Regions from separate parts of the Homo sapiens genome. Here all the other regions are linked to region 1. Evidence: promoter capture Hi-C in 16 types of primary human blood cells and fetal thymus (Javierre and others, 2016). All regions are on one chromosome and are shown on one strand. The core of a region is centred on a gene start or on the middle of the fragment in contact, and the rest is flanking DNA. Distances in the headings are between cores, read along the strand shown. Region 1 holds the start of NEK7 (NIMA related kinase 7). Region 2 overlaps MIR181A1HG (MIR181A1 host gene). Region 3 overlaps DENND1B (DENN domain containing 1B). Region 4 overlaps PTPRC (protein tyrosine phosphatase receptor type C). Region 5 overlaps PTPRC (protein tyrosine phosphatase receptor type C). Region 6 overlaps PTPRC (protein tyrosine phosphatase receptor type C). Region 7 overlaps DENND1B (DENN domain containing 1B).

What was found. Contacts are between HindIII fragments. The CHiCAGO score rates a contact against its expected background, and 5 or more counts as called.
Region 2: a fragment that was not itself captured here is called in contact with the fragment with the promoter of NEK7 in region 1 in 1 of 17 cell types (non-activated CD4 T cells); the score reaches 7.4 in non-activated CD4 T cells.
Region 3: a contact is called between a fragment that was not itself captured here and the fragment with the promoter of NEK7 in region 1, in 1 of 17 cell types (erythroblasts). The highest score is 5.5, in erythroblasts.
Region 4: a contact is called between a fragment that was not itself captured here and the fragment with the promoter of NEK7 in region 1, in 2 of 17 cell types (activated CD4 T cells and neutrophils). The highest score is 6.5, in activated CD4 T cells.
Region 5: a contact is called between a fragment that was not itself captured here and the fragment with the promoter of NEK7 in region 1, in 5 of 17 cell types (activated CD4 T cells, naive CD8 T cells, non-activated CD4 T cells and 2 more). The highest score is 8.7, in activated CD4 T cells.
Region 6: a contact is called between a fragment that was not itself captured here and the fragment with the promoter of NEK7 in region 1, in 4 of 17 cell types (total CD8 T cells, activated CD4 T cells, non-activated CD4 T cells and 1 more). The highest score is 5.3, in total CD8 T cells.
Region 7: a contact is called between a fragment that was not itself captured here and the fragment with the promoter of NEK7 in region 1, in 3 of 17 cell types (naive CD8 T cells, total CD8 T cells and erythroblasts). The highest score is 5.8, in naive CD8 T cells.

Annotation. Positions count from the first base shown.
Region 1 is chr1:198,155,062-198,159,270 of GRCh38, forward strand. NEK7 (NIMA related kinase 7) reads left to right here and starts at 1,937. Exons shown (of 10, transcript NM_133494.3): 1 at 1,937-2,215. RefSeq lists enhancers at 1,123-1,182, 2,613-2,662, 4,202-4,209 and a silencer at 1,773-2,372. The HindIII fragment of the contact is 2,805 bases long and covers 1,045-3,849 here.
Region 2 is chr1:198,930,991-198,935,199 of GRCh38, forward strand. All of the region lies in intron 1 of MIR181A1HG (MIR181A1 host gene), which reads right to left. Among named protein-coding and RNA genes, the nearest start is that of MIR181A1HG, 4.3 kb to the right of the region's middle. The HindIII fragment of the contact is 5,909 bases long and covers 1-4,209 here.
Region 3 is chr1:197,514,789-197,518,997 of GRCh38, forward strand. All of the region lies in intron 20 of DENND1B (DENN domain containing 1B), which reads right to left. Among named protein-coding and RNA genes, the nearest start is that of CRB1, 250 kb to the left of the region's middle. The HindIII fragment of the contact is 673 bases long and covers 1,489-2,161 here.
Region 4 is chr1:198,739,708-198,743,916 of GRCh38, forward strand. It overlaps PTPRC (protein tyrosine phosphatase receptor type C), which reads left to right. Exons shown (of 33, transcript NM_002838.5): 24 at 2,162-2,319; 25 at 2,525-2,660. Among named protein-coding and RNA genes, the nearest start is that of PTPRC-AS1, 75 kb to the left of the region's middle. The HindIII fragment of the contact is 658 bases long and covers 1,787-2,444 here.
Region 5 is chr1:198,723,213-198,727,421 of GRCh38, forward strand. The region is part of intron 15 of PTPRC (protein tyrosine phosphatase receptor type C); the gene reads left to right. Among named protein-coding and RNA genes, the nearest start is that of PTPRC-AS1, 58 kb to the left of the region's middle. The HindIII fragment of the contact is 748 bases long and covers 2,072-2,819 here.
Region 6 is chr1:198,704,266-198,708,474 of GRCh38, forward strand. PTPRC (protein tyrosine phosphatase receptor type C) reads left to right here. Exons shown (of 33, transcript NM_002838.5): 8 at 207-233; 9 at 2,469-2,687; 10 at 3,868-3,996. Among named protein-coding and RNA genes, the nearest start is that of PTPRC-AS1, 39 kb to the left of the region's middle. The HindIII fragment of the contact is 2,212 bases long and covers 759-2,970 here.
Region 7 is chr1:197,615,123-197,619,331 of GRCh38, forward strand. It overlaps DENND1B (DENN domain containing 1B), which reads right to left. Exons shown (of 23, transcript NM_001195215.2): 11 at 2,537-2,637. Among named protein-coding and RNA genes, the nearest start is that of DENND1B, 160 kb to the right of the region's middle. The HindIII fragment of the contact is 2,030 bases long and covers 806-2,835 here.

The DNA of each region.
Region 1 (4,209 bases), core at 687-3,186:
TCCAATGGCTCTCCTTTTCATTCAGAATAAATTTTAAAGGTTACAAGATTCTACAACTATACCCTTCTTGTACCCTACTCCCTCTTCTGATTTAGTCAGCTGCTTTCCCACCGCTCACTGAATTCTAGCCTACACTGACCTCCTGCCTATTTCTCAAACATGCCAAGCCCACTTCCACTTAGGGTCTTTGCATTTGCTGATCCTTCTGTGTAAAATATTCTAACCCTGGGTAGCCAAATGGCTAATTTCTCACTTCCTTAGTTCTCTGCTCAAATGTCAGAGAGGCATTCCCAGACAAACATATTTAAAATAGCATCCTCCCTCCCCATGTCTCCCTACCCTGCTTTATTTTTCTATGACTCACCATCTGGCATAGTAGGTATTTATTGGCTTTTTTTTTTTTTTGGCCTTTCCGACTACAATATAAGCTCTATGACAGCAGGCACTGTATATCTCGGTGAGCTGTTGTATCCTCATTCCTTAGAACATTGCCTAGCCCATTTATGAATATTTGTTGAGCCACATGAATCAAGGCCTCCTTTTGAGATCGTGAACGTTTTCATTTATTTATTTATTTTTTTGAGACGGATTTTCGCTCTTTCACCCACGCTGGAGTGAAGTAACGCGATCTCTGCTCACTGCAACCTCCTCCCCGCCTCGGGTTCAAGCGATTCTTTTGCCTCAGCCTCCCCAGTAGCTGGGATTATAGACTCCTGCCACCACGCTCGGCTAGTTTTTGTATTTTTAGTAGAGACAGGGTTTCGCCATGTTGGCCAGGCTGGTCTCGAACTCCTGACCTCAGGTGATCACCCCCCCCCCCACTTGGCCTCCCAAAATGCTAGGCTTACAGCCATGAGCCACTGCGCCCGGCCATTTTTCTTTTTAAAAATAAACTTTCCAGATCTTAATTTCATGGCTTTAACATTTTAAATGTTTGAGGTATAATCTACTCATTCTTGGCTCTAATCTTTTTGTCAGGGAAGTTAAACTAGTGAGAGACCTATGAACAACAGCAACAATTTAATGAGCACGTCTTATATGCCAAGCTTTGTGGTTAAGCACTTTGCTTTATCTCACTTAATTCTAACTATGGTCCTAGAGGTTGGTATTACAACTAATCTCCTTTTACAGAGAGTTACTGAGACTTGGAGAGGTTAAATAACTTGCAGCCAGGTCACAAAATTAATCACTGAGTTGAGACGACAATTAAGGTATGGCCGACTCCATACTGCCTCCTAGCCGTCTCCTCGAGTAGTTCATGCCCTGTTAACTTAAGTCGTGAAGCTGCTGGTGTCAAAGCATTCCTTTTGCAGTTTCGTGTACTAGGGTTCTGGGTGATTTTGCACATATTTATTTCAAAGATCCTCCGTACCACACCAGGGAGTTTACCTTCTGGAATGTTGTTGAAGCCCCTGTCCTCTATGCTGGGACACTTTCATGCAACGTTTGCTTAGCCAGACTCAGGAAAACGCCTTTTTTTTTTTTTCTCATTTCCCTGCACTCCACATTAAACACAGAGGTAGTTTAAATCACCTGGTAAAAGAAGATGGGATCACAAACGCTGTGGTCCAGAAGGGAACATCAGTAAGTCGGTTCACCGCTTGCAAGTGGGGGCACTTACATATAAATGAAGAAAAAACAAGTTCTTAAAAAGCAGCCGACCCTGGGTTCTTAAAAAGCAGCCGGGGAAGAGGGCTCAGGGGACCGGACGCGGTGCCCCGCACCACGCTAGGCCTGACAACCGGAAGAGAGGGGCCAGGAGGGGCTCCTCCAGAGCGACTTCGGCTCCAGTAGGGAAACCGCCGAGGCTCCCCCAGCTCCAGGGAGCGCCGGGGACGCAGGCGGGAAGCCTCCATCGGGCAGCCGGCCTGGACTCACGACGCGGGGTGGGGCCGGCGCCCGCCCCGCCCCTCTCCTCGGGGATGCCGGGATGTTTACACTCCTGACAGCGGCGGCAGCAGGAGGAGGATCGGGAGTCGCGGGAGGATGGGCCGCCGCTAGGCTCGCACTCCGGACGCGCCTCGCAGTGCGCAGGGTGGGTGCCCCGCGCCTGCAGCGTCCGCCGGGGCGGCGCGGCGGGAGGTGGCCGACAGGCTCCGGGCCTCGCAGCCTCAGCCCCCGGCCCAGCGCGCTTTCCGACGGCGGCGCCGCGCCGAGCCACCCGCCCGCCCAAGGTCTCTCGCGGGCGGGAGAACGGAAAACTCCCAACTTCCTGGTGAGTCGCTGCCCAGGGTTCAGGCGCCCGGACCGGGCAGCTCCTGCCGGGAGGGGCCGCCTGCGGGAGTCGGGCCGGGAGAGGGAGGTCGGGACCGCGCGGGGCGGCCTCCGGGATACCCTCGCTCGGGGTAGGTGGGGCGGGGCGCGCTGCGCTCGAGGCGGATGGGGGTTTCGGTCTTGTTCGTTGGCAGCGGTGGGAGGGGGCGGCAGGAAACTTCATACCTGGCCCCGGCTCTAGAGGCCCGAGGCCGCCAAGGGCGCCGCGGTAACTAAGAAACTCCGTGGCCACGGCGGCGGCGGCAACAGGTCTTTGGTTTCGGGACCCGAGGAACTTAAGCGAAGTCCCGCCTTCCGGCGGATGCTCATTGGCGACGTCGGTTATTTATCTCTCGCGGATTGGTGAAGTCCGTCTGTCAGGATTCGGCAGCAGCCCGACTTAGGAAAGTGAAGTGCGCTGGGAGAGAGTGGGTGGTGGGAGCCGGCAGATAGGGGAGAATCCGAAGTGGCTTCAGAAGTACAGGGAGCGTGAGAGGTCTGTCGGAGAATGAACTTGGGAGAGACTCGGGATTACAAAATGTCGGAGAGAGGGATTGCGAGGCAATAGCGAACATTGCTGGTGATGGTGGCAATGGAAAAGAAATTGAAAACTGAGGCCAAAGTCAGAGAAGGGTAGCCAAAGGAAAACAGAGAAAAGTGACAAGACCGTATGACCGCAGAACAGTGTAAGGAAGCGAGCACAACCTAGAGGATGCTGCCTTGAGAGCTAAAGAACTTCTGTTGCCTCTGTTACACTGTAGGCCTTCACTCCTAAAACCGCAGCATCCTCTATTTAGTCTTGCACTGGGAGCGTACTGGGGTCGCGGAGAGATGATGTATCGTGTTCTCACCTTGCTGTAGTCCTCACTGGGGAGAAATGCTAAAAAATATACTTAGTTTACAGTAAGATACATGTTACTGTCCTTGCGCAATTCTGGTGACTGAACTGAAAATCAGAAATACACAGAAATAAAATGATTATTCTCCTTTGAGGTTACTGAGCTCAAGGATGCAATTGAAAACACCACATTTCCATAGTTTGTAGAGCCTAATGTACCCATCATAATGGGAACCACTGTTTCTAGTTCCTCCTCCAAGGAATTTACAGTTTCAAGGCTATGCACACTCCCTCCAGGCGACAGCAGTATGTCTTGTCAGGTTGCATTAGAGAATTAAAGTACAGAGTATGTGTATTATAAATATGTTCTGTTCAGGACCTTGAGCTGCTGGTGGTGTGGTCGAAGAATGGCATAGTCCTTGCACTCAAAAGCTACAGTATGTTTGGGACAACCGGTCAAACCCTGAAAACGGTGAACAGTAAAACAGGAGATACAGTTAACCCTCTAATGCTTTGTGGCAACTCTTGTTGAATGGCCGCTGAGTATTCTTGGTTTGTAACACTTGGTGATGGCCAAGTGCTCTTGAAACAGCTAACTTAAAATCTCAGCAGTTATTTTATTTCCAGAGGAAGGAATTCTCTCTCCCTCGGCGAGATCCAGTCCACAGCTTGCTTCACTCTTAGAACAGCGGCATCCTCTATTTGGTCTCGCACGGGGAACTTGCTGGGGTAGGGGAGAGGTGTTAGAGCTTTGAAAAAGCTTTGCCTCTCGGAGGAGTCAAAGGGGCAGTAACTGTATGGGGTGAGAGGAAGGCCTGCGAAATAAAAAGGCAAAGGAACCGTTTGAGGAGGCTAGTTGCCTTCTCGGGGCCGGTGTGTGTGCGGGGGTAGTGTTAAGGGGGAGGAAGGAGCCCGGGAGCCCGGAGGACCCTCCCGGAGGTGCGGGCCTGAAATTCCGCTGGGTGCCGGGAGGCTCCGCCCTCCGGAGTACTGACGGCCTTCGCAGCCAATGCGCAGCCAGGACCTCGCGTTCGGGAGGGCGGGTACTTCCTACTCCAGCCCTGGGCTCGGAGAAGGCCGCGTTAGTTCTTTTTCTAGGGATGTCTGCGGAAGGGGCG
Region 2 (4,209 bases), core at 1,271-3,770, 780 kb after region 1:
TGTAATACTTTTATGCTTTTTTTGTGTGTATATTTTGTTTGATTTCTTAAGTTTCTAAAAATATTGTATTTATTTGAGGTAGGAAAACAAGAATTGGCTAAATCACTGCCCTTAATTTTTCTAATGGGTTTTTATAATTCCTAAATTGATGGGAAAATCATCAAATATTGGAAAATTCTTATATTTTGGAAGCACAAATTGATTCACAGAACATATATATAATTATATATTCTCTCTATATAGATTGAATATATATATACACACACATATATATAAAAGATGATCTCAGATATTTAAATTTTCCATGTTCATAAAGAATTTACTTCATATTTTGGTGGCTTAGAACATGTCTTTATATTTGTGAATCCCATGAACAAATACAGTTCAGTTTTCTCTGAAATTTTGATTTAAAAAAATTATAATTGATCTTATCATTCATAAGACTTGCACTTTTCAAACAATTGAAAAAACATGGCTTTTGATGATTAGGCAGCACATATTTTTGGACAACTAATAGATTTGCTTGAGATATAAAGTACCTGATGAAGAATGAGCAAAGAACACCCAATCAGATAGAGTGTTGCCCTGAGACCACTTCAAAAACCCTGATAATTAATTTGGAGTTTTTCTTAACTCTATTATATATTTTTAAAGTATACACCTTTGGTTTATGGTTTTTTCTATCTTTATTAGGCAAACAAATGTCAATATGTCTGGATAACTTGTTTTCATCTAATATTTTCACCATTCGAATAATAAATGTCTTTTAAAAAAATCTTTGACTCTTTGCAGTAATTAATTAAGATAATTATTTGAGTCAAGAATTTTTCAAAAAGAAAAAAATTCTGGGAACTTAGATGCCCACTTTTAATACATACGTAATTCGCTGAGCTATACTGAATATGGAGCTCACGTTCTATTCTTGATTTTTTTTACTGGTCCAAGTTCAAATAAAATTTACATAAAAATATTTTCTTTATAAAATGACTATACAGATAATGAACCAAGAATATTATATAGTGAATATTTTCATGGTAAATTTAAAAAGCATATGTATCTTCCAAAAATAATGTTTTTTTAAATAACAAGAAAAATTAATTTAGTACAACCATTCTTTCATCTTAATTCAACCAATATTTTATTTTTTAACCAATAAAGTGCTTACTAGACAGTTGAAACTGTGTAAGCGAATAATAACTTAAAAGAATTACTTGTGATAAAATGATAGAAAAAGCCAACTCAAATAATTTTCATTGAAGACAAATCTTGCAGCTATATTAATATTAATAAAAATTAAATGCTTTTGATTAGTCTAGATTGGCTTGTAATGGTAAAACACAAAGACAAAACTGAGGCAGTGAGCCTCACAATGCCTCTACTGATTTCTCTACTGGCCCTTCCTCTGCACATGGTCAATTAGAATTGAAAATCCTGTGCTGATTTCATTCGCTGGAATTTTTAAGCAGGTCAGGAAGAAAGATGTTATTGAAAGGAAAAGTCTCATCTAAATAAGAAAGGAGCACGTGGCCATCTGGTCTTAGCTATACATATAAAAAGTTATTTCAGCTGAACTGCAGTCTTGATGTTTAAAAAGATGTGCCAGAAATCAAACCAAAATCTGTTTACGGTAAAATATCCCAAATGTTTCTTTTTAAACTTTCAAATATGCAATACACAGTTCATTTCCTATCTGTGATTCATGAGCCCATTTGACCCCAGCGCCTCACTGAGCTTGACTGAGTTTCACTCAGTAGAACATTCAATCATTTTTAGAACACTTTTCCTTCATAGAGTGTCAACAAGACAGTGGATCTTTTGAAAATTGTGAAAATAACTTTGATAGTTTTCACTCAAATTAATTTTGAGTATTGTCGTCATGTAGGATTGCAAGAATAAAATTTGAAACATAAAGCAGCCAAACCAGTTTCCCTTGTTTTCTCATCGCAACTTGAGGTTCCTGTGCATTCTCTGCACAGTGCTCAGGTATCTACTCACAATAATTTCAGGCCCTATGCCTAAAGGCTAAGTTAAAAAAAATTCTCTTTTCATGAAGAGAAATTTTAAGTGTTGAGTCTTCTTTTGCAAATCATTTTCATGGTAGTAAGAAACAGAGATGGTTTTAAAAATCACATTTTATACTGTTTGTCAAATTAGAGTCATATCTTTTGATATTCTTCTTTGACATGAGGTATTTGTGGTAATTATAACATCAATACATTAATTCATCCAATATCTGATAATGCCCTTCTGGTAGTATAGACATAGCTAGTTGATATCGCAATCTGAATTTTATTGTATTGAAGTACATTAGTAGTCTTCAAGAACTCTTATTATAAAGTGACAACAATTATTTGGGGTCAGAAGACTATATTCAAATACATTATATATATATATACATATATATATATACTAAATATGCTACATGCATGTAAGAGACATACATGATCATAATATCAGCACATGCTAAACAACGATGTAGATTTAAGCTAAGTCTTCAGATAAATACTTGGATTAAAATATTCTAATATATGAAACAAAAGCCTCTTGACATATCTTTGACATAAAATGCCCACTGGTTGTTTTTGTATATCTACTATGTTTGTTCTGCCATTTCAAATAAATCATTGCCATTGTGTAAGAAGAATAAACTGTACTATAGTAAATTGTTCTTTCTCCGTTATGCTCTGAAAAACCATTTGTTCTTGAATTGGCGTTACGTAGTTCAACTATTTCAATCAAGTCCATTATCTTCTTGTCTTTGAAAGATGCCTTTTCAGTAACCTGTACCCAATGGGCAATGTCATGTATTGTTTTTTGAAAGTAGGTAAAATTTAAACACAACTATTTGCCCATTTTAATCTTTGATAAGGAAATTATATAATTAATCATCAATCTTCCACTATATGTTGGAAGAACTGTTTATGTCAAAATTACAGAGTTAGGCCAAGAATTTCTTAACGAAGTTATTTATTAGTTCATAGTGGAGTCTTACCCTATAGACTGTCATCTAACTTGTGTAGCTTGTTTTCTCTAAGTACAAAATGTGTCAATTCTTTAGCTACATACTTTTCTTAACAATAGTAACATGAAAGCAGAAAAAGAACAAAACATTTTTTCATTTGTTTTAAAACAGTCACAAAATACATTGGCAAAATGAATCTTATTAATTTGTTGACATATACGTAGTGCTGTTTATACATATATGCTTTGAAATTCCTTTCAGATTAATTGCTTTTTAGTACGCAAGAATGAAGAAGTATTAAGAGCAAATTCCAAAATTTTAAAACTCATGTATCAGATACGTGGTATGTAAAAACTGGTAAGTATAGCAGTCATTCTATTCTAATGAAGATTAATTTAAATTACACATCAAAACTTGGTAGTTAAGGGGTAGAATGTATACAGAGTTGTTCTATATCTACCTCTCAAATCTGGCAATATGTTTTGGTAAAAGTATTAAACTTTATTGGAGTGAAATAAAATAATGTACTGAAATGTGTGCATTAATAAAAATCTGAGCACATGTTTGGTGAGTAACTATCCAGTATAAGACCCATAAAACAGACTTGAAAATAAATACAAACCCTGAACTAGCTCACACGAAAGTTAATTCAACTACTATCTAATCCATAGATATACCCTTATAAAAGCACATGAGAGAGCATTACTTCTAAATCATTGGTACAAAACTGTTCTCTCCTAAAGAAATAAGTTAAAAGTAAAAAGGATTTAATTGTTACAAAATGTTAAGTGGCGAATAAAAAACACCAAGTCATAATAAATTGAAGTATTGTAGCATTTTTATCCAACTTGATTTCAAAATGCTCACCATTTCTACATCCTATTTATATCATTGAAATTCAGCCACCTTTCAAATGTTCAAACAGCATATTAATAAGGCTTCCTAGAACCAGGAAACTCTGACTACATCTATCTTGATAAACATACCCATCCTGCCCCATAAACACATCTTCAAAAGAAAGATAGCTGCGAATAAAATAGTCCTTTCCTGTGGGTGTCGGTTAACCCCACGAGCACGTGAACTTCCTATGGGCACACACCCAACATACATTAGCGATTAGGTGATTGAAAATGTTGCCCACAAAGGCAAAATTTTATATATGATGACATCACCAGCTAACCTGGATTTCTCTGTGATATAATGATATAATTTCCTGGTTGAGTGTGTGCATCTTGAGATAGAGAAAG
Region 3 (4,209 bases), core at 575-3,074, 640 kb before region 1:
CATAAACTCAGAAGTGTTTAGTAAGTTTCCTGTTTTTGGCACAATAAGATGTCTCATTTCAACTTAGAATTTTTCTGCATCAAACCTGGAATCAGCCATTTCTTCTAAAAAACACTGGTTTCTGTAGATGGGAAATGGCATTTAAATTTCGAGTCTGGGTGCTATGGGTGCTTATGGCTGCAAACCATCCTTTTGAATGAACAACAGTAAACTTGAATTTGGAGACTTCAACCATGACACCAGAGAGGAATAACTTTCTGCCTTCTGATTTTGAGTTCCCAATCTAGATAATTGTCTTCTTTTATTGCAGCCACAAAGAGTAAGCAAATTTATGGAACCTATAGGACTGATCCCTACTCCACTCCCTTTATGCCACTGCTTGTGAGTGGCAAAAAGGAAGGAATGAGTAGTAAAATATGCTCTTATAACCCCTACTCGGAATGTGTAGTGAGGTTTCCATAAGTTCAGGGATTAGAAATGTATCTGGGGCCTCTAACTGTCTAAAACTGGGGCCTATCACTTTATCACTATAAGTTTAAGGTACATGAGTTAAACAGAAATCTGCAGAGTAGCCTAAGAACAAAGCCACCACTCACAGCAATATTTCTGTGGGAAAAATACATTTCATGTACTCTCTCCAAAACTCACAAAATATGATACAATCCTTTGTTTCTGAAGACAAGCCATTAGTATTACACTGAGCTCTGTATATGCTTGGCTTTATACCAGCTAGCAGGTCCTGCATTTAAGTTTTTGTTTACAAATGAAACAAACTGAAACAAAGTCTATGAGGAAGCTGAGACTTTATATTGCTATCAATTAAAATCACTGCTACTTAAGAACTAATACAGGAAGATTAGATAATACATACTCAACAGTGTTTATATTTGTAGAGTACTTTGCAAAACACTCTCACATACACACAGATACTACGAAGTTAAATTAAGTCAAGCCTTTGACACTAAACAGCTCTAAGTCTAATGGACCCTACAATAAATCTGGAGTTATTCCAAGAGAAGTATATAATTTGCCCAAGCACACACACTTTATCAAAACTAGGAACCAGAAAACAGAACTTATGTCTTTCCCTATTGTGTTGCAAGTCCCTTGTTCATTTTCTTCCACAAAAGTTACCTTTATATTCTGTAGCTGTCTGCATATACTATAGCATCTCTATTTTTTAAGTCCAACTTTTTTTATGAAGCTACTGCTTTTTCCACAATCAAACATCTACGTCATGATATAAGCTTCACAGATACATTTACATTTTAGTTTCATGTTTCCTAGCTAGACAAGCATTCTATCCATTTCTATATAGGGATGTTAAACAGTATATCTTATGATAAGTTTTAACACTACAATTAAATTATAAACAGAAGTAAAACTGATTAATATGTTGTTTTCCTTTCCTTGGGTGTTGACCTTTGTGTTATCCATACTTATTATACATGTACTTATGTACTTAAAATTATATACATATATGAAATAAGCTTCTTCTAATTAATAGTCATTGAATATATATCAACCTGCATTAGGAACTGCAGTTTATATATAAGAAATAACAACGTCCAAACAGGTGATAGAATATGTCAATTGCTTGATGACTTCTACATAATTGTGTTAAGGTCACAAAAAAAGAGAAAAAATTAAGGAGAAAGATAATCATAATGTAATCGACATTTAAGACAGAGAAGAATAGCAGTAGAGATAATCTGGGTCCATACAAGCTCAGCAGCTGATGGTGTTCTGGTGGGTTGCGACTCTGAAGCACAGTGCTTTCAGGGGAAATAAAGGACAGTTTTCCCCATGTTCGGAACATAACAACACAGGGAAAAAAGGCCTGGTCACAATCTTAAAAATAAAGGTCTTTTGTGGGGAAATGGTAGTAAGTAAGTTTAGACTGCAGAAAACATATTGTGTATTCTTAAGGGTGCCAATACCCAGCCAGTAACAGTACATCTTCATCTAGGTTAACAAATCACAGACATATCATTATTAAAAACATGCATATTAACTATGCAGGACCTGAAATGTAAATGACTATGATAGAGAAAAATAATCTGAACCCACACAATAAAAATAAAAAATATATACATTATTTTAACACAATTGGGTATAGTGACTTATCCTTCAACATCCAGCTCAAATGTAGCCTCTGGAAAGCTTTATCTGCTAAGTGTTCCTCTGTATGGCCACATATTTGGTAAACATTTGGCAAATGTACTATTAATCTCATTGTGTTATCTGCTCGTGTGTCTGCCTGCACCACTACACTCAGAGCTCTCTATAAGTGGGATTCAAATTTCATACTTCTTTGTGCCCTTTGCACCCTACTGTATGCCTTCCTAGCATGGAAGACAGTAGTAGCATGAATGAGGATGTGCTTACTGGGTGTTTGTGGATTAAAGAGATGCTAGAAATTCAGAGAATAATTAAATGTGGCTGTTGCCTTACTTGGGGGAAGTACAGAATAGCAGCTTACAGAAGTTTCTCAATAACTATTTGCTGATGAAAAGAAAAAAGGAATAAATGACATTCACTTGCCTTTCATTCATTAGGTCCTGCAAGTTCAAGGTCTGCACCCTAGGGTTCCCTTTGTTCTAACCAAAGGTATCACCATGGCCTTCTTCAACCCCTTATATTTGTCCTGATTTGTCCTAGCACAGGACCTTTGCATATGATTCCTTTACAAGAAACACTTTTCTCTTACATTTATCCTCTTTGCACTGTCTTTGTCTATACACATCGATTTTCATTCAAAAATACGTAGTAACTGCCTACCCCATATTGAGTCTCTATTATTCTGTCTTGTAGAATGTTACAGTCTGTAAATTGCTGACAGAGTGATCTTTTTAAAAGGCAAACCTAATCATGCTATACTCCTATTTAAAGAAATCCTTCAATGGCCCCTTACAGTCTTCAGGATAAAGCTCATACTACTTGCCTTGCACAGAGGGATCTGGCTATGGCAGCCTCTCTGGAGGCTTCACCTGCCATAAAGATGTTTGCTCCACACTACTAAACCGTCTCCTTCTCTTGTATACTTCTCAATGTCTTCTGCCTCTGTCCTACACGTGGGCTGACATGCTACCAAAACTTCTTTCTTCCTGGCTCTTCCCCCCAGCCTCCCCATGTTTTGTTTGTTTGTTTGTTTGTTTTTTAGTTATCCTTCAAACCTTGGCTCAAGAGTTTATCTTTCCAGGAAACACTCCCTTGCTCACCAATTAATTTATATGCCATTACATTCTCTCTCCCACCGTACAGTAGGCTTTTGAGGGCAGACCCCTTGCCTTGCTAATTTATCTCTTGTGCCCTCAGAATCTAGCACATTGTGTCATACATACTAGTTCCAGGAAAACTGCAAAAGACTCTGAAAGGAGCAAAATGATTATGAGGTGTCTGACCAGTGGAATTATGAATGCTGTCTAGAAGGTCCTGTGGGGGTTATCAAGTTTTGTAGTGCTCTGCATCTTTCATTGTCTTCAACTATCTTGCCAGGATATAATTGGACAAATTGTATAACCAACGCCTTATCTTAAGTGGCAGTAATGACAATCCACTAGAATGGAACAAAGAGGTTGTTGTATTTATGCAGTTAATGCCCACAAAACCCTCCCAGGAAAACTTACATGCTGTCTGCCTGAGAAAGTCCAACCTTATTGGGGTAAGGAAGGCCTTTTTCTAGAAAACCAGGAACCTTAGCAAATTTGGAGAATCTCAAGAGGAACTCACCTTAATTTACAGATGTTTCAGGTAAACCATATGGTGGCAAGTTTTCTTGGGCTTAGTTGCTTAGCTTCAAGATAGCAAATAGCAGAGACTATATAGGCTCAATCTGAGGTTTCTTATGAAAATTTACATAAGTAAGGAAATTCTGAAGGCTTAGCTAGTCAATACTGCATGGCTCTAGATTTACAATGCAAACTCAAGAAGGCTTAAATGGTTAATTAGCTTTCTGGTTGCCCCAACATAAATAGGCCAAATCTAGTAAGAACAGTCTTCTTTTTGTGACTAAGAACAATCTTAGAGATTATTATGAACACAAGTGGGGAGACTGTCGGGAAAACTGTGAAAGACTTTGAAATGGGCAAAAAAAATATTGCTATCCTCCCAGTGGAATGCTGAGTGCTGTCTAGCATTCTTTTCCAGGTTTTTCTGATACTATACAGGTCTGCACCATTCATAGGTTCTATTTTTATAGCTCTGTAA
Region 4 (4,209 bases), core at 866-3,365, 580 kb after region 1:
TGTGCATTGTAGACCAAATGAACCTAATAGACATTTATAGAACACTTCAACCAATGGCTGAAGAATACACATTCTTCTCCTCAGCCCATGGATCATTCTCAGGGACATACCTTATGTTATGCTACAAAACAAGTCTTACAAAATTAAAAAAAAATTATATAAACTTTTCTTTGACTACAGTAGAACTAGAAATCAATAACAAGAATAAGTTTGGAAACTATACAAACTCATGGAGAGTGAACAATATATTCCTCAATGACCACTGATTCAATGAGGAAATCACTAAGGAAATTTTAAAATTTTTCAAAACAAATGAAAATGGAAACACAACAAACCAAATCCTGTGTGATACAGTGAAAGCAGTACTAAGAGAAAAGTTTGTAAGAGTAAGCACCTACATTAAAAAAGAAAAATTTCAAATAAACAACATAATGATACATTTCAAAGAACTAGAAAAGCAAGAGCAAACTGAACTGTAAATTAGAAGAAAAAATAATAAAGATCAAAGTAGAAATAAATGAAACTGAAATAAAAAAATACAAAGCATCAATGAAATAAAATGTTGTTTTTAAAAAGAGAAAATTGACAGGCCAGGTGCAGTGGCTCATGCCTGTAATCCCAGTACTTTAAGAGGACAAGTCGGGTGTATCATTTGAGGTCAGGAGTTTGAGACCAGCCTGGCCAATATGGTGAAACCCCGTCTCTACTAAAAATACAAAAAAATATTAGCCAGGTGTGGTGGCATGCACCTGTAATCCCAGTTACTTGGGAGACTGAGGCAGTAGAATCACTTGAACCTGGGAAGCCGAGGTTGCAGTGAGCCAAGATTGCATCATTACACTCAAGCCTGGGCTTTGCAGTGAGACTTTATCTCAAAAAAAAAGATAAAATTGACAAACCTTTAGTCAGACTAAGGAAAAAAGAGTGGAGACTCAAATGCGTACAGTCAGAGATGAAAAAAGAGACATTGCCACTGATACTTCAGAAATTTAAAAGATTATGAGATGCTACTATGAGCAGTTATATGCTAATGAATTGGAAAACTTAGAAGAAATGGATAAATTCCTAGATACATGCAACCTATCAAGATTGTAAAATGTCTCTTGATAGAGCTGTTTAAAAAACTACAAGTCTTTACATGGGGGTTAAGATTTTCTCTTAATTTCATTTATTGTAGGGCTTTTAGTAATCTAAATTTTATTTTTGTATAGTCTAGCTATATTTTCTACAGGAGAAACAGACTTAGTCTATATATCTCCGTAGGTCTTCTTAGGTTTCCATGGTATTACTAATTGTTATGTCTATAGAGTGCTGTGAAACAATCCTATCAATAGTTTCTGGCCAAACACTTGTTTGACTAAGCCACAAAGGCACCTGCTCCATAGATATGAGGATATATTTCTAGATTGATGCCTATCTGGCTACATTCTGTAGTCTGGGTTTACTGGTGTTAATTAACTCAGTTTGTGTGTTTCTTTTGTTATCTAAATGTAGATGGTTCTTTATACCTGGCCATAGAATTATGACTTATGCATCTTATGGTGGTTACCTTGAAATTAGAACAAACCTGAGCTCTAATCTGGGGCTGACTTTCCTCAGTCGTCTCTCTACATTCTGTGTTGACAATGCTACCATGTGAAGGCCTAAGGAATACAATGTTCATCAAATAATTAATCAGACTTTGCTCACATATGAATTAGTTCTGTTTGCTGGCCTATCAAGCAGAAGTATTTTAAACAGTTGTGAGAATGACCTTTACCAAATCATTTTAAACACAAATCCAAAAAGCTTCCACCCATGCACCCCACTTTTATGGTGTATGTTTATTTTGGGTTTTTTTTGCTTGACAGCATGCAAGTTCCTAGAAATTTTGGTTATACTTTTAAAGAAAGTATTACCTTACTTACCTTACTGTTAAGTTATTGCTTACAGGGTAGTACATGCAAGTCCTGCACAATATCTTAACTACTAGTTATTGATTAGAAAGGAAAACACAACCATGGTTGAGAAAATATATAAGACACCTGAGGAAACTATGAACTCTTTTGAGTAGTTTATGTTTACACGAGGAGACTTTGTACTGGTACTCCCTTCCACTTATTTATGTTTCATAGTTTGCTTTAAAAAAATCATCTCAAAGAAAATATTATCTCTTGACTAGAAAAAAGAAAAAGCAACTGGAAGAGAGGTGACTCACATTCAGTTCACCAGCTGGCCAGACCACGGGGTGCCTGAGGATCCTCACTTGCTCCTCAAACTGAGAAGGAGAGTGAATGCCTTCAGCAATTTCTTCAGTGGTCCCATTGTGGTGCACTGCAGGTAGGAAAAACGAACAAAAAAAAAAAACAACAACAAAAAAACTCCAACAGAATCCACCTGCCTAGGGCTGTTAGAGACATCTTTCCCTTTGGCAATTGCTATTTTGGGAAACAACCTATGGGAGAAGCTTAGATTCTTATATTGGCTTCACACCTGACAGCTTTTCCATGATCATGCCTCTGCTTTTTTTTGCTTGGTTTGCCAGTGCTGGTGTTGGGCGCACAGGAACCTATATCGGAATTGATGCCATGCTAGAAGGCCTGGAAGCCGAGAACAAAGTGGATGTTTATGGTTATGTTGTCAAGCTAAGGCGACAGAGATGCCTGATGGTTCAAGTAGAGGTATGTTCTAACCTTTAGTGATTATTCTCACTTTGGTTTTTTGGACTTAAATCTTTTCCAAGTGATAATAATGATATTTTTTAAAAATCCAAATTCTTCACAACCTCAAACAGTAGATGATTTCCTGAAAACTAAAACGTGGTAATCACCAGAAATACTTAGAAGCATTTTTCATTAGTGCCTAAAAGTACTGTGGAAGAAAGATGACCACAAAATATATAATTTTTAAAATAATGAACTACTGTTAACATATATCAGATTGGCAAAAAAAGTAAAAATGCTGAAAATAGATTTGGCATCATCTCATAAAATTAAACTGAAGAGACAGAATAGTATAGTAATCAACAGCTGGTTTTAGAAACTACACTTACAGGTTTCAAATCTTGCTTTTAATTATTAATACGAGGGTGAGTGGTATTGTTTATTAAGTAATTTTAGTCTGACTGCACCTCAGTTAAGTCATCTGTAAAATGGAGACAATGATAATACCTCACAGACTTATAACCACAAAAGTAATACAAATAAAGCACTTAAACAAGTCCCTGGCCCATGCTATGCATTTGGTGATTGTAAGTGATGGTAATTACTGAAAATGTCTGTATTTGACCCAGCAAAATCACATATATGCATATACCCAAGAGAAGCATCAACTAGAAACATTTGCAAGAATGTGCATTGCATTCAGCATTGTCAAAATAGCAAAAAAAAAAAAAAAAAAAAAGTGAAATACATATCAATGAAAGAATGGAAACACCGTAAATATGTATCAATAGGGGAATAGGAAGACAAAATGTGGACATGTGAACTCTCTGTACAACAAATGCTATGTTGTGGTAGAAAGCAATGATCTAGGTTTGTGTCTGTCTGTTTGGAGAGATGCTCAGATGAAAACAATGAGTGAGTAAAGCTGCCATACGAAACATTCAAGATATAATTTATGTGATTTAAAAAAAACATGAAAATGTACAATGCTTGTGATTACAGATACATAGATAGCAGTGTAGAAACATAAAAACAAATTGTTAACCAGGTAAAAAGAAATTATTTACAGTGGAAAATAAAGTACAGTGGAAAGACAGTGCCAAACTCAGGGAACTAAAGGTGGCGGTTAAAGAGGATTATCAGAAGTATACCATTTCCTTGAAAATACTGGATTCAAACAAAATAAGCAGTAAAGAGTAGTTAAATCTGGGTTTGGCCCATTGGATTACAAAAAAATAATTTTCTTATTAAAAGAATACTTTTCTTATTTTAAGTTCTAAAAACTATAAAAAAAGGTTTTCTAAGGAATAACAACTTGCTTTTTTATCTCTTGAATATACTGTGAAATTTATTATAGTTTTACATTCAGTAATTTGGCTTACTGACCCAATAATCACTAAAGGAAGTAACATACAATGTTCTTTAGTTTTTAGGAATAAAAGTTGTGCAATACAGAGTACATGGATAATCTATTTGCAAAGTAATTCTTTTCTGAAAAAATAATCTGAAAATAGAATTTGCTCATATTCCAGAAAACTCTGAGAGTGAACTTCCAGAATATTTAAAT
Region 5 (4,209 bases), core at 1,196-3,695, 570 kb after region 1:
CTCTACTTTGGGCTTTCTCTACTGGTTAACATTGTAAATAGAATTATTTAAGCCTGTATGTACTTTGTTGTCAGCAACTTCTAGGTCTTTCTATCTTTGCCACTTCTAGTTCTTCCTCTCTTACATATGTTACATATGCACATATGCATGTGCACAATCACTGGTATGAATGCAAAGTCAAAAGAGAAAATATAAAAACAGCTTATTTTCCAAACTGCTTTACTAAGCCCTCTGCAAAGTTTTAGTTCTTTCTGCTCAGATTTATGAAATAAAAACTCCCTGTGTTAAATGTCAAAAAAGTCCAGCAAGATAGCTTTGATTTTATTTCCACATTACCTTTTTCTTTTATAATATCTTTATAATAAAAATGACTTCATTGACTCTTTCCTATTAAATTGTAAATAATTTATAGCAGTCATAGACTCAGCTGAACATTCACACTCACATCTTAATAGGCCAGATCTGAAACATTTCACCTGGAAAGACACAGAACAAAAAGCACAGCATGCTAGCAAGGGAGCCTGGCAGTGGGAATCCTTGCAGCGGGAATCCTTGCAGCAGTGCACACAGCAATCCAGCTACTTTTCTTATGACACTCTCAAAGACAACTGAGATATGAGAGAATGAGACCACATGTGTAGGTGTAGGAGCTGCATTCCAAAAGGAATCAGTATCTCTTATACTATTTCCATGGGCATAGCTTCCAGACATGCCAACAGGGGTGTGCTCAGTTATGAGCGGGCACTGCACTCAGGGAAACCCAAAGCTGGTACTTCCCATGAGGACAATAGAGTTCACATATAGCACTCCCTGTTCAGGTGTAGTTTAGCAATCAAGGGTCATTTTGCCATTAGCAATGTTGTCTGGTAACCAGCTAATATTCCACTTTTATCAGGTTTCCAGGTCAACGGAGCCAAAAAATTAGCCCTCATCTTTTTCCACAAAGGAGACAACATTGTATTCACTCTCTGCTCACAATATCATTATCCTAAGAGATAAATAATATAGTTTCTTTTAAAATAGTGATATCTGTTCCAGGAAAGGACTTGGGCTGTGAATTGCTAGGGTACAGCTACTAGGGATGTGTTGTTGGGTTTCCCCGGCATAATATTCCACCACCTGTACTTTGACATCATTGTCAATTGAACTCCTGGGGACCCTTTCTTCTTGCTCTGATCTGGACTCTCACATGCCATCTTGAAATATTCCCCCATCAGTTTTCTGGTTTAGATTTGCTGTATCACACATAGTTATTTTTTTTTCTGTCTGAGTTCACTGATATATGTTCTCTAGTGTAAGAAAAATAATTCTAATTCTCCCATACAAAAAAAATTTTTATTCTGCTCTGGCACTTGTTCAGTGTATCGACTTGGTATAAAATTCTAAGTTAAAAATTTTAGAATTTAAAAATTATTTCTGTCTTATTTTCCTGAATCCAATTTTACTTTCTAATTCCATCCTGATTCTCTCTCTCTCTCTCTCTCTCTCTCTTTTTTTGGTCTGTTCCCAAGTTTTCCTCCCCTGGAAATGCTAGGTTTCTGTCTTTATTCTTGGTCTTACCTGAATTTTTTGTTTGTTTTGTTTTGTTTGTTTTTGTTTTTGTTTTTAGAGGGAGTTTCGCTCTTGTTGCCCAGGCTGGAGTGCAGTGGCATAATCTCGGCTCACTGCAACTTCTGCCTCCTGGGTTCAAGTGATTCTCCTGCTTCAGCTTCCTGAGTAGCTGGGATTACAGGCAGGCACCACCACACCTGGCTAATTTTTGTATTTTTAGTAGAGAAGGGATTTCACCATGTTGGTTAGGCTAGTCTTGAACTCTTGATCTCAAATGATCCACCTGCCTTGGCCTCCCAAAGTGCTGGGATTACAGGTGTGATCCACTGTGCCTGGCCCTGAATCTTTTTCATTCATTTTTTCTGGATGCTATTGACCTTTGTAACCTGAAGATTTATATATCTGAGAATTCTTTGCTCCATTTTCTTCCCATAGTCTTTGGTTGAGTCTATTAGTCATAAAACTCATAAGTTGACTTATTATTTTGGCATTCCCCTTTGGTGTTGATGTTTTCCTTAAAAGCTTGGTTCTTATTGGTAGTCTAGTCATAGTCACAGTGAGACAACAGGAAAGGTTGATTAGATGTTCTGTGGTCCTTAGAAGATCTTGGTGACTGAGGAGATTTCCTATGATATTGCTGATTTATTTTTTTCTGATATCATTCATTATCACCAAAAACTAATTAATCCCCAGAAATTAATCTCCAGAATTACCCTACTCCTTGTTGTGTGGTAAAGTGTGAAAAAGTGGTTCTTCTCACAGTAGGACAGGAAGATAGGTGTCCAACTATTGCATATGTGGACAATTACATTGTCCTCCTAATTTTAGTCCTGTGCCTCATCCCTTCCCTGTACTGAGCCTGACTTTATTCTCAGTCTCTCACTGCTTTCATTTAATTTTCCTTTTGTCTTCTCCTCCCTGGTAGTATTTTTTCAAGAAGATATTTTTTGTTATTGTTGTTGTTGTTGTTATTGTTTTTGTAAATAGACATTTGACTTCCATGTTCTGACCCATGATTCACATTTACTGCATATGTCACTTTCAAACCTGAGACTCAGGCATTCTGAGTAAATGGAATCTATTCCTTTGATTTAGGCTGTGGCCTCCTTTCTTTTGTTTTCTACCTTCTACAACTTGTTGAAATTGCTCTACTTCTAATTTCCCTTCTCTCATTTTCACTGTCATTATAAATCTATGGCATTTTCAGTTTTTTAATATTAGCAGGGTTCCTGGAAAGAAGGGGGAAACACATGTGTGCTTAGAATGCAAGCTTTATCTGAAGACTTGGCTATTTTATTAAGTTTGTTGAGAAAAGTCTGATGCTGCTTAATATTTTTGTAGAACTTAATCTAATTATTATGGATTGGAATGCTAACTTACAGTCATTTGCAGTTTCTTGCAAAATCTTACTTCAGAGTATTCTAGAAGTTAGATGTTGCCTCTGATGAGGTTTTTATTCACAAAATCTGGAAACAATCATGCTGATTGATATATGTATACTAGTAATCACTGGTATGGATTGACAATTTCAGTGAAAGGAATTTCAGATAGAGATAAGACAAGGAACACTTTGGGTCATTTTAGGAGCCTATTGCAATAAGAACTTCTTCCCTAAAAATGTTCACTGCAATCCACCTATATATTCACATTCATGTATCCCATCCATTTTTATATATGCCGGCAGTATAAATACCCCTTTAAAGGAGATAAAATTATTTCTATTTTATATATGAGGAAACTCAAGTTTGGATAATTTAATCTATTTGCCCTATGAGTCAAAGAAATGACAGAGCCTGAATTCAAGCTCAGGTCTTACAGTCTGTATCTGAAATTACTTTCAATATTCCTGTTTGTATGAGTTTCCAGTTACAGAAATTTTGATCATGAGATGAACTGTTTCTGGCAGCTGTTTGCTTGATAGAGTCATTTCCTTCTTTCCAGTTGTAGAAAAACTGTCTCATGCTCAAGGCCTCCACTTGCCATACAGAAAATACATCCCCTCTACTTCCTTATCACCCTACTTATTTTTTTCAGAGTATATGAAAAAATGCATAATTATTTCATTTGTTCACTTACCTTTCTTTTTTCTTTTCTTTTCTTTCCTTTTTTTTTTTTTCTTGACAGAGTCTTGCTCTGTCGTCCAGGTTGGAGTACAGTGGTGCAATCTTGGCTCACTGCAACCTCTGCCTCCTCGGTTCAAGTGATTCTCATCCCTTAGCCTCCCAAGTAGTTGGCATTACAGACACACACCATGCCTGGCTAATTTTTTGTATATTTAGTAGAGATGAGGTTTCACCATGTTGGCCAGGCTGCTCTCAAACTCCTGGCCTCAAGTGATCCACACGCCTCGGCCTCCCAAAGTGCTGGGGTTACAGGGGTAAGCCACTGCGCCTGTCTGTTCAGTTACCTTTCTAGTGTCTGTTTCCCCCAAAGAGAATGCAAATTTCCTGAAAACTAATATTATCTCTGCCTTATATTCTATAGCATTTCCACGGACTGTCTTCCTTTTTATCTTCACAGCCCTTATATCTTCTCACCTACATGACCATTTACTTATTTCTTCTGTTCATTATTAATTATCTATTTTTCTTCACTAGAGAGTAAGTTCCATGAGGACAGGACCCTTGTTTTTCTTTATGTAGATATCCTAAGTACCTA
Region 6 (4,209 bases), core at 615-3,114, 550 kb after region 1:
AAAATTTTATAGAATTAGCTCATTCCTTTATAATGCTTTAAGTTTTGAAATGAAAACCTGTACTAGGCAAATCCTTCATATTCTGTTAAATCTAACTAGATAGACTTTATGAAGTAGAAGTATTGTAAATCAGCTTTCCCAAAAATGACATGGCAGATATTCTAAAGCAAAATTTTAATAATTTACATTTTTTTTCTCCATTACAGCTACTACTCCATCTAAGCCAACATGTGGTAAGTTTATTTACTTAGAATCAGCATACCTCACTTTGGAATAGCACTTTAATTACATCTTTCTTTATTCCAAGCTTTCAGGACCCACTAGTAAGCTAAACTCACTGGCTCTAATTTCTCACCGATGACTAGTCTCAAATTAGTAAAAAATTACTAGCTACACATGGACATAGAGTTGGGAATGATAGACACTGGGAAATACAAGAGCGATGATGGAGGGAGGAAGACAAGGGTTGGGAAACTACCTATATTGGGAACTGTGCCTACTTGCTGGGCGTCGAATTCAATTTTACTGCAAACCTCAGCATCCTGCAATATACCTTTGTAACAAACTTGCACATATAACCCTGGAATCCAAAATAAAAGTTGAAAACTAAGTTTTCCAGTTAGACAACTTTGGTAAAGCCACTTAATTTAATTTAGGTATTTGAAAAAAAAATGGAATAACAGCAAGTTTGTTGGTGAGGGGGAGGGGGACAAGGATTCAGTGTGATGATAAATATAAAATGTGGATAATACCTTCAAAGCTTATCAAGAAGAAAAATCTCTCTTTTTCTCTCTCTTTCTGTCTTGCTTGTTAGGGGCTGGCTCAAAGCAGATACTTGAAAACAGTTTGTCTCTCTTTTTTTTTTTCTCATTTTCTTCCTTGATTCTCAGTTGAAGCAAAGCGGTTCTTCATGGTCAGGGCTTATTCCTCCATTCATTTCTAAGTCTAACCACTGGAGTCACTGCCTTCAGTAGCTTTCCATACATTTAGTGTAAAGAGTGGCCTTCATATGTCTGTTTAATTAATATGATCTTTTGTAATCCGGTTGTCATTCATCTCTCCTCCCGCCTCTTGAATCATTGCCTCCTTATGTTCTTCACTTAAGTAATATGGAACCACTTTCAGTTTTCTTTTCTTTCTTTCTTTCATTCGTTAGTTCTTTCTTTCTTTTTTTTTTTTTTTTCTCACTCTGTTGCCCGGGCTGGAGTGCAGTGGTACAATCTCAGCTTACTGCAACCTCTGCCTCCTGGGTTCAAGTGATTCTCCTGCCTCAGCCTCCCAAGTAGCTGGGACTATAGGCACATGCCACCGAGCCCAGCTGATTTTTGTATTTTTAGTAGAGATTGGGATTCACCATGTTGCCCACGCTGGTCTTGAACTCCTGACCTCAGGTGATCAACCTGACTCGGCCTTCCAAAATGCTAGGATTACAGGCATGATCCACCACGCCTGGCCCACTTACAGATTTGTAAACACATACTGTTCCTTCCTGCCTCTGTGGCCACTCCTGCTCTTCCTCTACAATTGGAATTCTGCTCCAACCTCATCCCCCAAACCCCATGTCTATTTTTCTATTTCCTGCTCATATTTTAAAACACAAACTAAGTCACTTTCTCTGGAAATCCTGTCCTATACCTCCAAATGGAACAGATCTCTCTCTTTCTAGTGCCACATTATTTCCTGCATAATCTTATTTTAGAGGTTTGTATGTCTCCTGCAATTCATGCTTGTGTCTGCCTCCACACTGGATTATACATTTCTAAAAGCTGATTATATCTAACTTGCCTTTGAATTCCTAGTATTGGTGACCATGTCTTACATATGACAAGGGCTTAATAATTTTTGTTGAATAAAAACAAATGAATAAATTTATATTTGTTGTAAAGATATTTTTATCAGTCAGCAGAAATTGTTGACACTAAACAAAGGTGCTTTGGAGGTATATTATCAATCATAATTTTACCCAAGTTAAGGAAAGAATGAGGGCTTCTGATCCCTGAGTAATTAATGCCCCACATATATCAAGAAACAGGTGGTTAATAACTACGTTTTAGAAAACAAGAAAATTATAAAGCAAGAATAAATTTCTCAAATGCATCATTTATTTGTGCATCAAGTCAACAAGTAACTAGTGAGTTCCCATTAATGATACATATTATGCATACTCCTGAATTTACAGTGATAATAAAAATAGCCTAGACTTTGCTCTCATGGAAGTTCCAAGTCCAGCTAGGAAGACAGACACTTATCTGGTAATCATCCAAATATAAATTTACAAGCTGAGGTCCTTGTTAGGGCAGTAAAGCACAGATAATTACGAAAAAAATGATATGGAGGCACCTAATGTGTTTTTTCTTTTTCATGTTTTTTGGGGATATTTGGTTAGTTGATTTGATATTTTGGCATTTGCATTAATGTAGTTTTATTTATTCTGGAAAAATAACACTCAATGTTCTATTTTCTTTTAGATGAAAAATATGCAAACATCACTGTGGATTACTTATATAACAAGGAAACTAAATTATTTACAGCAAAGCTAAATGTTAATGAGAATGTGGAATGTGGAAACAATACTTGCACAAACAATGAGGTGCATAACCTTACAGAATGTAAAAATGCGTCTGTTTCCATATCTCATAATTCATGTACTGCTCCTGATAAGACATTAATATTAGATGTGCCACCAGGTAAATATCAATTTATTTCTTTTAATAAATTTATAAAAACAGTACACTTTTGTGTGTGGTGTTCTCCAGTGGTCACAGGAGCTAGTCTGGTGAGAGAACAGGGCTGAGGGAAAGGAAATTCCTTGGAAACAAGTGGGTGAACTTTCTGCTGTCTTAACCAAGTAAAAATGATAGAGTCAAATAAGCCTTCTGTTTACATCCATTAATCACCACTTCTACTTATTTAACAGGGAGATGTTTATGTGCACTAAATATAGTTTATCCTGCTAAGTGATTGTCTGCAAGCTTTCTTTATTCTCCTCTACTTAAATGAAGTATTAATTATATATGTACATATATTTATTCTTTTAAGTACAAATTTATCTGAAATATATTAGGGAGAAACATAAAGGATTTGATGTGTATGGGAAGAACCAAAATACATTCATAAAAAGGAAGGTTATGGTCATGTTAGTGAGATCAAGTTGGTTTTGTCAGCTAAGCTACTGCTTGGAAAGAGGAGGGGGTGACAGGCGTCGGGCAGACTCTGGGGAAGCATCTCTTAGCCAAATGCATTCTGGAAAAGGGATTCCAGAGCCGTGTAATTTTTTTAAAAAGTCATATCATTTAATAATTCAAGACTATTAATAAATTTGTTAACATTTAAATATGTTAACATCAAATGTATTTTGAAAATAAAATCCATTTAATTTATTCATTTTCCCTAAATATTACTGAGATAAATTACCAATTAAACACAGAAGATGACAATACTTAAAAATGCATTTCCCAATAGGGAAACTCCCAATACACTTTATAATAATCATTCAATTAAAAGTAAGTAAAGAGTAAACAAAAAATTTAAGATAAAAACAAAAATACAAAATGGAATGAGTGTTTTTTAAAATGTGCGAAAGCTACAATTTTATCAATATGTTTGCTTGCATTTCATTTTTTAACGTGGTATAACTTATAAATGAAACACTACCAAAATATATGGTGCTAAAAATAATAAAGTAAATAATAAAAGAAACAAATCCCTAGAGTTATTAGACTTTTCCCATAGCAATCTCAATCCTTGCCAAATTCTATGTCATTAGCATAATTTCAGTGGCTTTAACTGACATGTTAGGAATGAATGAGGGCTTAGGATACACATTATGAAATACTAATCAAGTTTATTTCTGTATCTTCTTGTCAGGGGTTGAAAAGTTTCAGTTACATGATTGTACACAAGTTGAAAAAGCAGATACTACTATTTGTTTAAAATGGAAAAATATTGAAACCTTTACTTGTGATACACAGAATATTACCTACAGATTTCAGTGTGGTAAGAATATAACATTGACCAGAGAATTTTTTTTTGTGGCACAATGTTGTTCTAGATATTATTTAATCTTACTCTCTGCCCTTTCTCTCTTCCTCCCTGCCTCTCTTGTTCTCCCTCTGTTTGTCTTTTTTCTTTCTTGTCTTTTTCTTGGTCTGTGGTATATTTAGAGTCAAATAATTAAATTACCTATACAATTCAAACAAATTCACAAAA
Region 7 (4,209 bases), core at 571-3,070, 540 kb before region 1:
CTGTGCTGTGTGTGTGCATGTGTGCACATGTAAGTATGTGTGTATTTCTTGCTATCTGTGAATCTTGCAATGGCATAAACTAAATCTTATTCATTACATTACACACTCACAGCTTGGCAAATATTAATAGATGGTCACTAAGTGTTTAATGAACAAGTGAATGGATGAATGAATCAACAAAGTAGCAAGGCTTTATTGGTGGACCAAGATGCGATATCCATCCATGGTCACAAGATGGCATTACGGCTCTCCACAGTCCAACCCACACCAGAGCTACCAGTTGCAAAAACAGAAATACTTTATGGAGGTAGGATTACCTCAGGATTCAGAAAGTTCCAATCGTGCCAAAGAGTTAGCAAAGATATATCTTTTCCTATCAAATCTTCATGACACTATTTTTGAACTGGAATATTCATAAAAAGTATTTAATCAAAACTATGAGATTGAAGGGATGATCTGTAATTTTTTTCCCTTTTACATGTAGATCAGTATGATTTTTTAACCTCAAGGATGGAAATGGAAGAAAACTGTTTACCCTAGGAAACAGTTTAGTTTACCAAGTTTTCTGATGGCTATTCTTTAAAAAAATAATTATATTATATTACTCCGTTCCTATGATAGAAGCTGAGCCTATCATTGTGACCTTAAGGTTCAGGAAGTTTCAGATAACTTCTTGTTTGAATATCACTGACTTACTCTTTGAACCAGGGAGGTTTTTGGCATGCAAGCTCTTAGAACTCAACCCAAAGGCTATTTCAGACATTAGACACTAGAAAGAAAATTCCAGGGACTGAAATATGAAACAAGCTTACTTCATTGAATTTTATGGCAGGGGTAGAAACGATTAGAAAAGATCTGGAAAAAAATTAGTACAGAACTGCCTGTGTCATATAATAATTTCTAAATAACATTTTAGAAAGTCTTAAATGTGTAATTCATTACAGATAATTGAACTTAATTAAAGGTGTGTTATCTCTTAAGAGGTTAGAACATTTTAATAGAAAAATTAAGATGGCACTAACATCATATATAAAACGTAATTCTAAAGATATATTATGTAAAATCATATATCAATATATTTCCAAATACTGCTGTAAAATATATTTTTAAATAAATAAAGTTTAATTACTGAACAGTATATACAAAGATCTACTGCATATGTCAACATAAATAAATGAGACCCTCCCTTTAAGGAATGCTAAAATATTATAGGTATGTTGGTTAAAGGAAAACTCTAAAATGAATAACAAAGGGCCTATTTATTTTATTCTTAGACTTGTGTGTGTGACACTTAACAATATAAACTACATTCCTATAGTTTCCTGCCAAACAGTTTCTCCTTTCTAGTTCTCAAACAGCATAATAGCAATGGTAGGTCACTGGGCACCTACTTCACAGCATTATCAATACTAATAATATTACCATGCTGTGGAAACACACCAATATATTAACGTAATCAATATGTGGCCAAGTACATGTGTTGTCACTACAATCACTTGTTCTGAAGAGGCTCAGTCATAAAAAGTTAATAGAAACCCTCTGTGTATGAACTTAAATCATTTTTAATCCTTAATACTTTCTGCCTTTTATGAAATAAGAAAGTTAAATGAGTGCATTGATTCTAAAAGTGCTGTGTTTTAGTAACATTAGCTGTGAAATAAGCAAACACATTAAGGTCAAAATTGTTTCCTTCTATGTGTGTGCACAATGATTTAGAGGAAAAATCCCATCACATTTCTTAAGAATTAGGCTATACCTGCAGAAGATGATTATGCAATGAAGATAACATTTCCCCCCCTAGTCTTGAAGAAGGCCCAGAAGCTGCTATTTAGAAGTCTAATCCTTGTTTAGACTCATGATAAATATGCAGACTCTTCCAGGTGAAGAGAACAAGGAGGGTCTAGAGGCCTGGTTATTGGGATCCTTTAGGAATTGTGTCTAATGCCAGGAAACTTTTCAGAACTACTCCCAATACTTTTCAACATTGCTTTTCATGGTGGATCAAGGCTGAGACTTTGACTTAAACAAAAAACAAGAATTCTTGTATTAGAGACAACCCCTTTATCAGTACTTGGTATTTGGTGTGCTATTATTGAAAAAAGAGGGGTAAAGAAGTGTATTCTGAAGTAAAGGTAACAAGAGTATGCCCTGACAGAGACAATGTGGTTGCTGGCAGATTTGCCAGACAAATTCTGACACCTGGGATACTGGGTTCTCTAACTGACACCATAACTTCTATACAGTTTTCCTAACACAACTTAAGACTGTTATTTTTTTCTATTTTGCATTGAGTTATCTAAATGACTGCAGAAGAAATTCACAAAATCTAAAGAACTTTATGTTTGCTAGGTATAAACTTGCGCTACCTTTGTACAGAATTATTCTGTCCTTCATAAAAGCCATCTTTACTATTTATTAAAATGTAAGTTTCTGTGATTTCTTTTAAATATGCCCCCAAGTTTACCTAGTTCACAAATAAACAGATAATCTAATCATGAAACCTAAACTTAAAGGAGTCTGGCAAAAGCCAGCTTACCAGCAGTAGTCCAGCAGGTGTGGAGGAAGCACTGGGATGTATATGTGTTGCCAATACATTGGGTATAGAAGAGCAGCTGATCCATGGATACAGGCAGTTAACTGAAATTTGTAAAAGGATAACAAAAATAAGTAGCTGCTGACCTTCCAAACAAAAAGCAATGTTCAATGTATCAACAATGAACAGTAATCACAGAACAATTTACATAACTACATAAATCACATTGTCTTTATCACTTCTACATGTAAAAAGTCTTACATCTCAGAGGCCCCTCTGAAACATATATAAACAGCAAAAGAAGCTTCTTGGGAATCATGTAGATAGTTATAATCATCTGAAAATACCGAGTTTGGGATTGAAAACTTAGAACATAAGTAAAAGTAAAACTGAAAAATTAGGTGTGCATCTTAGAAAAATTGTAGGAAATTACAATTTGTACAGCATAGTTTGTGTATCACTCAGATTAATATAAGATGATTAAATATGGAAAGGAAGAGAGGCTGAAAGCTCCTGAGGGATATCATTAGGGCAAATTGCCAAAGAATGAAACATGAGCCAGTTAGGAGAGTCTGGAAGCTGCAATAATATCAGGGGACTTGAATGTTCGACAGTTGGAGCTTCAGTAATGTGTGAACTGCGGGTTACGGTATCAAGAGACTCTGTTCACTGACACATAGAATGTCACTATTGACCAGCAAACTGCCCAAGCTTGACAGCTGTACTACAGGAAGCCAAGTATATCATAATTTCATATTTAAACTGTTCATTCCAGATTAACATTTTGTTTCCTAGCTTTATATCACAACAGCTGTAATTACACTGTTGCTATTTTAAAGGTAATTGCCATTTTAATTGTTTTGTTTTGGTAAGCAGTTAATTAAACATTTTTTAGTACTTAACAAAAGGATATCACTTTTTTCTCCCATCTTCTGACCCTCATCAGAATTCTTTTAATGTGACTTTCTTTCCATTTTAAATTATATTTCTGTAGATGTAAAGTCATTTTTATGCATAAAGCAATAATTAAATCAGCATTCTTAATCATTTTAAAGTTTTGCTATAGTCTGTATTTCAAGGTTACCGATTAAATTATTTTATTCAACTTGAAGATCAGAATTAAAAAAAAATCTGAAAATGAACCAGACTTTCTATAAACCGTTTTCTCTATTATTATACAAAGATATTTAAAGAAACTAAGTGATAAGCACAATTAATTTAAAAAAATGAATGTACACAAAGCTATCCAAATCCTATTATTAGCCACATTTGTCTATGTTTAAGTGCAAAATAGATCCATTACATAAAGTAAATTAAAATAACTCGATTTGAACCAAAACCAAAAATTTTTATTCAAAGTATATGCATCTTTGCCATATGTATTATATTTTTTCCAGTCATGTTTTTAATCAGTTTTGTATGGCAAATAATGTATTTTGATTTCACTTAGGATGTTATCATTAAAGGATTTTACTACCTTGTACTTACAAGCTTTAATAGGTTATGATAGTATTCCTTCAATAAGTATTACTTTTTAAATTCCTTAATTAGAGCCTACAATATGCCACTAGGAGGCATTCAAATACTTCCATTTAACAATTATAGACCATGGATTTATTTATGTTACAAACTGCAGCTAGAGGGAAATGAAAATGGGGTTGATCTAACTCATTGTG